Linked DNA regions of Homo sapiens: region 1 is linked to region 2. Evidence: promoter capture Hi-C in 16 types of primary human blood cells and fetal thymus (Javierre and others, 2016). All regions are on one chromosome and are shown on one strand. Each heading gives the region's core, a stretch centred on a gene start or on the middle of the fragment in contact. The rest is flanking DNA. Distances are from core to core; before and after follow the strand shown. Region 1 holds the start of SLC2A6 (solute carrier family 2 member 6). Region 2 holds the start of MED22 (mediator complex subunit 22).

What was found. The method cuts DNA at HindIII sites, captures the fragments that hold promoters and counts their contacts. A CHiCAGO score of 5 or more calls a contact.
Region 1: the fragment with the promoter of SLC2A6 here is called in contact with the fragment with the promoter of MED22 in region 2 in 3 of 17 cell types (endothelial precursors, M1 macrophages and total B cells); the score reaches 7.6 in endothelial precursors.

What each region holds. Positions count from the first base shown.
Region 1 is chr9:133,475,957-133,481,310 of GRCh38, forward strand. SLC2A6 (solute carrier family 2 member 6) reads right to left here and starts at 3,143. Exons shown (of 10, transcript NM_017585.4): 1 at 3,012-3,143; 2 at 2,298-2,460; 3 at 1,079-1,285; 4 at 281-380. The coding sequence starts at 3,103. RefSeq lists enhancers at 2,673-2,732, 3,153-3,654 and a silencer at 2,893-3,542. The HindIII fragment of the contact is 7,664 bases long and covers 10-5,354 here.
Region 2 is chr9:133,344,998-133,350,579 of GRCh38, forward strand. It overlaps MED22 (mediator complex subunit 22), which reads right to left and starts at 3,134. Exons shown (of 5, transcript NM_133640.5): 1 at 2,925-3,134; 2 at 1,543-1,703; 3 at 175-255. The coding sequence starts at 1,665. RPL7A (ribosomal protein L7a) reads left to right here and starts at 3,221. Exons shown (of 8, transcript NM_000972.3): 1 at 3,221-3,249; 2 at 3,925-4,045; 3 at 4,554-4,703; 4 at 4,915-5,055; 5 at 5,243-5,322. The coding sequence starts at 3,247. SNORD24 (small nucleolar RNA, C/D box 24) reads left to right here and starts at 4,399; the gene lies at 4,399-4,473. SNORD36B (small nucleolar RNA, C/D box 36B) reads left to right here and starts at 5,097; the gene lies at 5,097-5,167. It also overlaps SNORD36A. RefSeq lists enhancers at 707-1,210, 1,211-1,712, 3,017-3,311, 3,173-3,642. The HindIII fragment of the contact is 16,795 bases long and covers 1-5,582 here.

The sequences.
Region 1 (5,354 bases), core at 1,893-4,392, 130 kb after region 2:
TTTGATGGAAGCTTTCTGCCGTTAAAAGATAGTCTGGCGACTGTGGGTCCAGGAGAAGCCCTGGCTGCCCCAGCTAGAGACTGGGCCTGTGGCTAGAGGGGCAGGCCCTGCCTGGAGGTGCCCAGCAAGGTGCTGACTGAGTGGGGCCGGGATGCCAGATCTCTTGCCTCTCAGCCCAGGATCTGTTCTGGGACAAATCATTCCCTTTCCACCCACGTCTACCTTGGCGGCACCCACCCCTCCCACCAGCCTGCACACAGGAGTGCGGGGCCATACTTGCCAAGGGCGTAGAGGGACAGGGATCCGAACACTGCCATGAGCTGGGGTGTGGCCCCCAGAGCCCCACGAACGCCTGGGGGAGCAATCTCAGACACGTACACCTGCAAGACACAGCCGCCGCACCAGGTTTTGCTGAAAATACTGGTTCCTAGGCCCGGCCGAGATGGGAGAGTCAGCCCCTGTGAACCCCGGAAAGTGGGAAGTGGAGGCTTTCTGGTGGGGCTGAGTCCTGGTCATGACTCACTGCAAGACCTTGGGCGGCCTGCCTGATCTCTCTCTGTCCTCAGTTTCCCTAACTGTGACGTGGGTGGAAGTACGCAGCTCGGAAATGGGCAGCATGACGCTGGGAAGGAGGCCCGAGGGCTCCCAGGCTTCAGGGCTGAGCAGGTGAGTCCATGCCTCCCAGTGAGTTTTGTCTCCTCTGCTGGGCTCACCACCAGGCCCCGTGTGGAGTACCACATAAGATAAGAAGGTCCCGGGGAGGGTGTAGGGCAGGGACTTCCCTCTCCTACCCATTGCTCAATGCGGATTTTCTCCAATTGAGTAATACATCTGACCGGTCAAGAAACGGGGTAGAAGGCTTGGAAAGTCCAGAGTGGGGGCAGCTGGGGACCTGGAGACAATTTCCCCCAAATTAGCTGCCCTGCTGGGGGTGAGCTGAGGCGCCCTGGGCATCCGCAGGGAAGGCAAACAATTCTCATTGCCCAGAAGGCATGGAGGCTGGGAGGCCTTAGTCAGATGGAGGCTCAGCACCAATACAGAGGCATTGGGGCGCCTGGGTGGGAAGGCCTGGCCTTACCGGGATGCAGGCAGCTGTGAGCCCCCCGGCGAAGCCCGTCAGCGTCCTTCCGAGCAGCAGCATCCAGAGGCCGTGCGCACCCGCCATGAGCGCATAGCCGGCCGCCGACGGCACAGCTGAGAACATGATGCTCAGCTTCCGGCCCAGGAGGTCGTTGAGGATCATGGCACTCAGGCCTCCGGCCGCTGCTCCCAGGGTGAACACGGACTGCAGGGGAAGGGGGTGCAGGGCAGATATGTCTGGGCACTTGGCACCCCAATCTCATCAGAGTCCAGGGACAGCTTCTTCCCTAGGCCGACCCCAGGAGCTGGTCAAGCACTTGGCCAAGTCAAGCACTTGAAACAGGGAGCCTCCTGTCTTCAAGGAACAGCCATTTGTTAGGGATGCCCAAACGGGGAATTCTGCTCTAAGGAAGAGGTGCTGCGCCACATATCCACAGTGGTTCTGTCCAGCCTGATGTTTAAATGTCTAATATTTTAATACAGGAGAATTCTGTGACTTGAAGGTACTGGGCTTTAAGATTTGGAGGTTCTTAAGTTCCCTGTACAGCAGCAACTGGGACCCCCTCTGGACTCTGCTAACTGGTAGTGGGACCTGGGCACATTGCCCAGCCTGTCTGCACCTCAGTTTCTTCAGCTGTCTTATGGGGAGAGCGCAAGTTCTACCTCGTGGCGTTGGCCCTGAGAATCAATGAACGTTCAGTGCCCAACACATGCCTGGCACATAGGAAGTGCTCAGTAAACCTTGGGAATTTTTATCTTAACTACTATGTTAACAACTCTACATATGAGGCTATTAAGATTATAATTTTAGACTCTGGGACTCTGGGATCTTCCTCTCCATCAGCCCACAATCTGTCCTGCGGACTCTCCTTGCCCCAGCCAGTGCCTCTCCCCACTGACACCTGATACCCTTGCCCCCATCCAGCCAACTGTGGGTGTGGGGACCCGGGGAAGCCTCAGCCCCACCTAGTATAGACCCTGACAGCCACCTCCCCACCTGCTCCTTCCCTCACCCTCTCCACTGGCTTTCAGTTCCTCATTTCAGAGGAATCCTGTAGCTTTACCCCACCCACTAGTGGCCTGGATGGCTGGGGGAGGGGGGACCAGGGCCCTGGAGGGACCCCCAAGGTGGAGAATTTGGGAGGTTCCTAGCTGGAGATAAGGCTCAGCAGGTCCCTCCTTCCTGCACCCACCCTCCTCCAGAGGATGGTCCTTACCCCAAACCAGGATGCCTGGGATTTGGTCAGATGCAGGTCAGGATCCAAGGAGCGCTCCAGGGCTGGGATGACAGGGGATGTGTAGACCAGGGCATACCCAAAGCTGAAATTGCCGAGCACTGCGGCGAAGGTGGCCAGGAACACCCTTTTGTTCTGCAGGGTCCTGGTGATGGTGGCGGACAAAAAGACCAGGGTCTCTGAGTCCCTCCTCCAGGGACCATTGCCTTTTCTGAACCCAGTGGCTGCCCGGCTCAGCGGGCAGTGCTAGGGAGGCCTGGGTCCAAGGCCATTCACGTTCCCAGGGCCTGAGCCCCAGCTCCCCTGGGAAATTCCCAGGCCATTGTTAGCTCATCCGCAGTGGCTGAGCCTCTGGTGCTGGGGCCTTTTCTCCGGAAGAGGAGGCTCTGGTTCTGCCCCCAGGGCGGCGGCTGGAGGCTTGCTGTGTGACCTCAGGCAGAACCCCTGCTCGCTGGGGCCTCAGTCTCACTGTCTGTGGCAGTGGGGGGCTGGGCCCGGTACTCTCGTGGATCGTTCCTTCCCTTAGGGGGACCAGTTCCTTAAATAGGAGTAGCGTGTCTGGGACAGGAGGGAGCCAGATGGCCCCTCGGTGGCGACTAGGTCAGGGGAGGCCCAGGGCGGGAGCCTGCCGCCGGCTGGAGGGAACCAGGGCCACCCCCAGGCCCCACCCGCAGCCCCCAACCTAGCGACTCTCACCCGACCCGCGCCCTGTCCCCTGGCGACGGGGGCGGCTTCTCGGGGAAGGTGTCGTAGTCCGGGCCCTCGGCTCCCAGCAGCGGCTCCTGCATGGCCGGGTCTCTCTCGGGGCGAGCGGAGGGCGCTCAGACTGGAGCAGCCGCCCGGGGCCAGCAGCTCCGAGGGCACCGGCCAGGCTCCGCCCCTTGGCCGCTATTGGCTGTGGGACGGCCCTGCAGAGACACGCCGGCCAATGGGGCGGCCGCAGGCTGTCCTGATGCTCGGATGCGGACCCGGCTTCCCCGGGCGCGGCCGGCACCGCGTGCGCCCCCGAAGGTCACGCCCCAAGACAGGATGGGGGTCCCAGGGCGGAGCCCCTGCTGGATCGTCCGGGGCCCCCGCGGAGCGCCGGAAGCGGCTCACCCGGCCCGGCTCTTGCAGGCGTGACTGCGGCAATGCGCGCAGCCCCTGTCGTACTCGCTCCCGCGGGGTGGAAACCGAGGCCCAGAGAGGCGAAGCCGAGCGCCAGGGTCACAGCGAATGCGCACCTCGCTCCTCCTTACGCTCTAGCCCTCCCCGTCGCGTGGCGTCTCAGGGCCACCTCTGCCCTGGCTCTCCCTGGCACCAGGGAATCGGGGTGTGTCAGGGCAGCAGCGGATGTGCGGGACGAAGGAGGCAGGAGGGGCCGGCGAGGCGCTGTGGGCAGCTCCAGTGGGCGAGGTCTGTATCCTCCACCCCAGGCTCTGGTGGTAGAAATAACCTGAGCTCGTGACACGTAACCCAGGTAGTAAGATAACATTGAAAAATAAGAAAAGCAGAAATGGAAAATTCCCGGGAAGACCGTCCTCAAAAAATCCCACAGCAGTTCCACCTCTCCCTTTGGGCCTTTTCGGGAAGAGGACGGAATCACGCCCTGCTCTGTTGGATGGACGTGCCACACACGCTTTTAAACGGAGCCTTTGTTGCTGAGTATTTGGGTCATTTCCCATTTTAGCTATTAACATGGTAAAGCATTTTTAAAAGTTAGAATTCCCTTTTATTATGATTGAAATACAACCATAATAGAACAATAAAATCACATCCATCTCCCGTCAGCCTGACCTTGATGGCGTTTTAGCCTCTTCCAGTCTTTTCCTCATGTGCCTATTTTGCATATTTGCTATTGGGGCCCCCATTAAACTGTGCAGCCCCTTTACGTCACCGTTTTCTTGCCATCAAGATCATAGGCTTTGGACTCAGGCACACCCTGGTATGGTGATCAGGCTGCACAGTCCTCGTGGCCATATATATACGTATATACATATATATGTGTATGTATTTTTACATATCTATATGTGTATTTTTTTTTTTTTTTTTGAGACGGAGTCTCGCTCTGTTGGCCAGGCTGGAGTGCAGTGGCACGATCTCAGCTTACTGCAACTTCCACCTCCCGAGTTCAAGCGATTCTCCTGCCTCAGCCTCCCAAGTAGCTGGGATTACAGGCATGTGCCACCACGCCCGGCTAATTTTTGTATTTTTAGTGGAGACGGGGTTTCACCATGTTGGCCAGCTTGGTCTTGAACTCCTGACCTTGTGATCCTTCCGCTTCAGCCTCACAAAGTGCTGGGATTACAGGCGTGAGTCACCGCACCCGGCCTTCTCTTTTTTTAAAATGTATTTTTTTTCTTTTAAAATCAACTTTAGGCCAGGTGCAGTGGTGTGTGCCTGTAATCCCAGCATTTAGGAGGCCAAGGTAGGAGAATTGCTTGATGCCAGGAGTCTGACACCAGCCTGGGCAACAAAGTGACCCTGTCTCTACAAAAAGCTAAAAAAGTTGTCCAGGTGTGATGGCAAGTGCCTGTGGCCCCAGCTACTCGGAAGGCAGAGGTGGGAAGATTGCTTGAGCCCAGGAGTTTGAGGCTGCGGTGAGCTGTGATCACACCACAGCACTCCAGCCTGGGTGACAGAGGGAGAGCCTTCTTGAAAAAATAAAATACAAGAAAAATCAACTTTGTTAAGCTATAATTTATATACAGTAAAATGAATCCATTTTAAATATAGGTTGATGAGTTTTGACAATTGTATAACCCCAAACACCCCCAATCAAGATATAAAACATTTCCACCTTTTCTTTCTTTCTTTTATCTTTTTTTGAGACAGAGTCTCTCTCTGTTGCCCAGGCTGGAGTGCAGTAGTGCGATCTCGGCTCACTGCAACCTCCGACCACTGGGTTCAAGCGATTCTCCTGCCTCAGCCTCCCGAGTAGCTGGGATTACAGGCGCCCGCCACCACACCTGGGTAGTTTTTGCATTTTTGGTAGAGATGGGGTTTCACCATGTTGGCCAGGCTGGTCTCAAACTCCCAACATCAGGTGATCCTCCCGCC
Region 2 (5,582 bases), core at 1,884-4,383:
TTCTTTAAAGCTGCCGAGTGGTGAAACCAAAGCATCTCTACATTTGCCTCCTTCTGCTCCTTCTCGGGGGAAGAAGACCAGACCAGCCCCAGAGCCCCCTCCACTCCACCCAGGAAACCTGAGGGGACTGATGCTCTTGGAGCCCAGGCCGTGCCCTCCACCCTGGCCACTCACGATGTTGGCGGCTCGCACATGCATCTCGTAATTGTCCTGTTCACCCTGAGTGGCCCGTGACACCTGCGTCTCGTCCTCAATCTGGGGGAAAACAAGAAAACCTAGAAATCAACCCAGCCAAGGCATCCCCACCCCTGGCCCGGCCCAGCCCAGCTTACGGTAACTGTCATCTACCCAGGATGTCCACACTGGCCACAACCTGTCTGTGGTGCCATCTACAGACCTAAGCGCTGTCAGCCAGACCTCTGACAAGGTTCAATTCCACCCTCTCTTGTTCTGGCCATGGGAGACAACATGCACCTTTGCTCAAGACAAATAGAGGCAACCCACGCTGCTTGCTGTACTAGGTGCAGGGATGGGGGCTTATCTTGGCCCGGTCTTTTTGGGCTGTGGGAGCCCTGTTTGGTAGGAACCGTTGTCACTTGCTTGGCATTTGGTAAACTGTTGGATGAGTGAAGGGATGATTTAAGTTTTTTTTCGCGACCATTTCCTGATCACTTCCCAGGTGCCAGGCTGTGTCATGCACTTGACCACCATTAACCCATGCCAGTTTCACAGAAGCCTGGCCTGCCACCCCTGGTGTATAGGTGGCCAAGCGAGGCTGGATGGGGCTTCCCGGCAGGCCTTGCAAAGGCTCAGTTCGGGGTGGGTGTCAGGTACCCTCAGTGGTTAAGACCCAGACTTCGTGGGTTCAAATCCTGGCTCAGCCAGTTGTGAGCTGAGTGACCTTGGGCAAGTCACTAAGTCTCCTGGGCCTGGGTTTCCTCCTGAAATGAAGAGGACAACAGTGCCCACCTCACAGAGTCCTCATGAAGATTCAGCAGAACAGGCACAGATAACCTCACAACGTGGCTTGATACATGGCAAGCACTAAGTACATGCTAGCTTCCATCCTCATCATCATCGCTTATGGAGCCTGCCAGGTCTGCAGCAGCCAGGAGGGATCCAGCCCAATCTGATGCAGCTGTAGCTGCAGTGGTCAGCAGGCTTGCAGGCCCCAGTGCTGACCGCTCCACCTGCCTGGAGGCCCCCCCCCACTTCTCCCCTCAGTCTGCTTTTCTCCTGCTCATTGGCTGTGTGCCAGGCCCCGAGGTAACTGTTTTACACAGATAAACTCACCAGTCATCACAAGGACCCCACCATGCAGGAGAAACTGAGGCACTAAAAAGTGAAATCTCCATCCAAATCCATACTGTTAGTAAGGGCTGGACGTGCCATTATTTGGTTTGCTTATCTACTGACCAGCTCCCTGTGCACTGGGTGCTTCCTGCCTAGAACACTATTCACTCGCGCTGCTCAGCCCCTGGCCTCTCCTGTCTCCACCCCTTCTCAGACTCTGCTCCCCTTGGTGGGCCACCCCACCCCCACCTTGGCGGTCTTGATGATCTCGGTGAAGTTGTCCATGATGGACTTAATGTCGTCCTTCAGCCGCTTGTTGTAGGACTGCAGCAGCGTCTCCTTGCTCTGGGGCAGGGCTCTCTGCTGGGCCATGGCCGAGCCTCAAGCAGCGCAGCGGGGAGACCTGGGACCTAGAGTGCAGCACAGACCTCTGAGTGCAGGCAGAGTCTACCCCAGCCACCCTCTATGCCCCAACCTTAGCAGAACACGCAGATTTCTGGGGATTCCCTTTCTGCCAAATAAAGTCAATCACTGAAACACAGATGAACTCATTCCATCAGCAGACACCGCAGGGGGTGCCAGGACTGGCCCCGCCTTTGCCAGAGCAAGCTCATCCTGGAACTCCTGGCCAGCCCTCCAAGCCCTGTCCAGGGCTCCAGTCCAGACTTCACGTCCAGGCCCACAGCGTGTCCCAGGGAGCCCTGCAAACTCAACACCAGCTCCCCGTCCCCAGCCCTTGGCTTAACTTCTTAGCCCGCCGCCACCTTCGCCACGCCCTCCCATCCGAAGAGTCCTTCCAATTCGACCCCTCTGCACCGCCTACATCCACGCTTTCCTTCCACTCCCACTCAGGCTGCCCCGCTCCAGACCTCATCCCTGCACTGCGGGCCCCGCTCCCTCCAGTCTCTGCGCGGCAGGGAAGAGGTCCTAAAAAGTGGTCATTCCAACCGGGCGCGGTGGCTCACGCCTGTAATCCCAGCACTTTGGGAGGCCGAGGCAGGGATCACCTGAGGTCAGGAGTTTGAGACTAGCCTGACCAACATGGTGAAACCCCAACTCTACTAAAAATACAAAAATTAGCCGGGCGTGATGGCAGGCGCCTGTAATCCCAGCTACTCGGGAGGCTGAGGCAGGAGAATCGCTTGAACCCGGGAAGCACAGGTCGCAGTGAGCCGAGATCGCGCCACTGCACTCCAGCCTGGGCGACAGGGGGAGACTACGTCTCCAAAAGAAAAAAAAAAGGGGGGTAATTCCACTCCCTCGCTTAACATCCCTCATGGTTCCCCGGTGCGCCGGGACAAGGGGCTCAAGTTCCGCGCCGCGCCTCTCGGCCTCTGCCCTCCAGCCGCACTGGACGGCCTCGGCGCTGGAGTTGCCTGGCCCTGGGGCCGGGCCTTTGCGCGCGGTGCTCAGGGAGGGCCCGGGGCCCCCTAGGTTCGGAGTCTGGCGCACGACCGAGCGGACTCCTGGACGCACTCGCATTGTTTGTGCCCATTTTTGGCGGGGTGTGGGAAATAAGTCACACGCAGGAAAGGGGATCTCCGACCCCAGCGCCTACGCACCCACCCACCCCCACTCCCGCCCACACACCCACCCCCCCTCCATCCCCACCCCCCACCACACCCTCATACCCGCCCCAGCGCCCGCACACCAGACGCCGCGTCCGCCGGGTCGGCCTAGGGCGGGGTGGTCAAGTGCCTCTGCGACCCGCACTTTCCCGCGTCTCTCCCACGGCCTGGCCCTCCCGCCGCAGTCTCTCTTCCCCGCCGCGCCGCGGTCCGAAAACCTAGTCAGCCGCCGCAGCCTCTCGGCCCCGCCTCGATTTTTAGCTTTATAGGAATGCTGTTGCTTTAAATCCGAAATCCCGTGCCGGTATCAACTCTCGCGATCTCCGAGGCCGCATACATATTACCCACAATTCCCTTTCCTTTCTCTCTCCTCCCGCCGCCCAAGATGGTGAGTGAGCTGTAGTTCCGTGGCACTATAGCCAGGTTCCGGCTGTATCCGCTGCCATCCTCCTCCAGGCGCGGCCTCGGAGGGCCTCCTGCTCCTCCTGGCGCTAGGAGAGCCCCACTCGGTGTGGCACGGAGACACCGAGGTGGATTAGAGCCCCACTTGGTGTGGCACGGAGACATTGAGATGGACTAGAGCCCCGGGCGGCCGAGAGCGGAATGCGTTGTTCCCGGTGTCGCAGGGCTGGGTGTCGCAGGCCTGGAGCACCGCAGTGCGGGGCTCGGAGCCCTAGCGTCTCTCGGGCTTGCTGGGGGCCGCTCCAGAGGCCTTGTGAGCGACGAGTTCTGAGCCCGCCCCTGTTGCTTCTAGAGCCTGTGGGGCCGCGACTCAGAGGAGTCATGAGTCCGGGGTGTCTCCTGGGTGGGCGACGCGAAGAGAGCGTGGTCTCGGGCTTAGCCTTGCTCTGGCCACTCGGGGTTCCCGGGGCTGCATGCTTGTGCGGCTGAATGTGAGATGCTCCTGTCGAGGGGTGGTGCTGGGGGGTTGCAGAAAGCTGCTCGCCAGCTTAGTTCAGGCAGGTGCTGTCAGCGTCCCTTGTTTTGGAGGAGCCAGCCTGAGCCCTACCCCCGACGAAGCGAGTGGAGGCGGCGGTTTAACTGACGTTTTCTTTCTGCCCAGCCGAAAGGAAAGAAGGCCAAGGGAAAGAAGGTGGCTCCGGCCCCAGCTGTCGTGAAGAAGCAGGAGGCTAAGAAAGTGGTGAATCCCCTGTTTGAGAAAAGGCCTAAGAATTTTGGCATTGGTAAGTAACAAACGGCAGAATGAAAACGGTCTATGTTTTTCTCAAGGGAAGGTGGTAATTGGGTTGTGTTGTATCTTGTAGGTTTTAGTGGGTGTAAAGTGGTCGCAGTCCTTAATTTGTGTCTCTTAGAGACGGGGGCAATGATACATGCTTCTTGCTTTCATTGGGAGTTGCTGAGCGAGCATTCAGCTCAATATGGTAGTGGCCTTGAATTCAGCTTAGCCATCTGGAAACAAGTACAGTAGCAGTGTCGCAGCGAGGTACTAGGACTGCAATTCTGCTGTACTTCGTGGCACCTTGGCTTCTTGTTAGATGAGGAAAAGCATCGTGCTCTTTGTTCTCAGGTGTTTGTGTGCAGATGATGTAAAAGAATATTTGCTATCTGAGAGATGGTGATGACATTTTAAACCACCAAGATCGCTGATGCACCAACACCCTTCCTAGTGGCCCCAGACATGAACTTGACATGGAATTTGAGCCTCACTCGGTGTCACCCTTTACTTCTCAGGACAGGACATCCAGCCCAAAAGAGACCTCACCCGCTTTGTGAAATGGCCCCGCTATATCAGGTTGCAGCGGCAGAGAGCCATCCTCTATAAGCGGCTGAAAGTGCCTCCTGCGATTAACCAGTTCACCCAGGCCCTGGACCGCCAAACAGGTGAGGTTCTGTGGCGTGGAAAGGAGTTTCTCAGGCAAGGATTCCTTATTTCATCCAGAACATGAGGGGGATGGTCTTAGGCTTCTTGAACTGCAGTTGTCATTAAATTATAGTCATATAGCAGGACCGCAGTCCAGCATTTGTTATTAAGTGTTAAGTGACAAGGATTAGAACCTTGACTCCAAGCCTAAACTGAAGAGTGTTTTTCCAGCTACTCAGCTGCTTAAGCTGGCCCACAAGTACAGACCAGAGACAAAGCAAGAGAAGAAGCAGAGACTGTTGGCCCGGGCCGAGAAGAAGGCTGCTGGCAAAGGGGACGTCCCAACGAAGAGACCACCTGTCCTTCGAGCAGGTGAGTAGGCCCCACCTTAGGGTGAACACTGGGGGCGGGCTGTTGCAGTGATGTAAAATTTCTTGGCCTGAAATTACTGTGAAGAGTAAAACCGAGCTTTTTAACACTGAGTCAGCAGCTGAGCCCAGCAGCTTCTTGTGACTAGAGCAGGCCCTGTGAGTGCTCACAAAGTGGTTGTGTGTTCTAGGAGTTAACACCGTCACCACCTTGGTGGAGAACAAGAAAGCTCAGCTGGTGGTGATTGCACACGACGTGGATCCCATCGAGGTGCGTTTGCCTGTTGACTGCTAACCCAAGGGCTTCTGGCAGTACCAGGAAGAGAGAGTAGACCTAATGCCAAGTCAGTGATGGGACCGAAGTGGGTGAGGGCAGTACTGACACAGATCCAACACATGCGTGGCTCTTGCAATGATGTGAATCTCTCACTGAATTCAACCTTGAAGTGCGAATCCATGAGCTTTTTAACCCTGAGCAATTGTTACAAGCTAACTGAAATTTGCTGCTTTTGGTCAAAATACAGTCTTCAG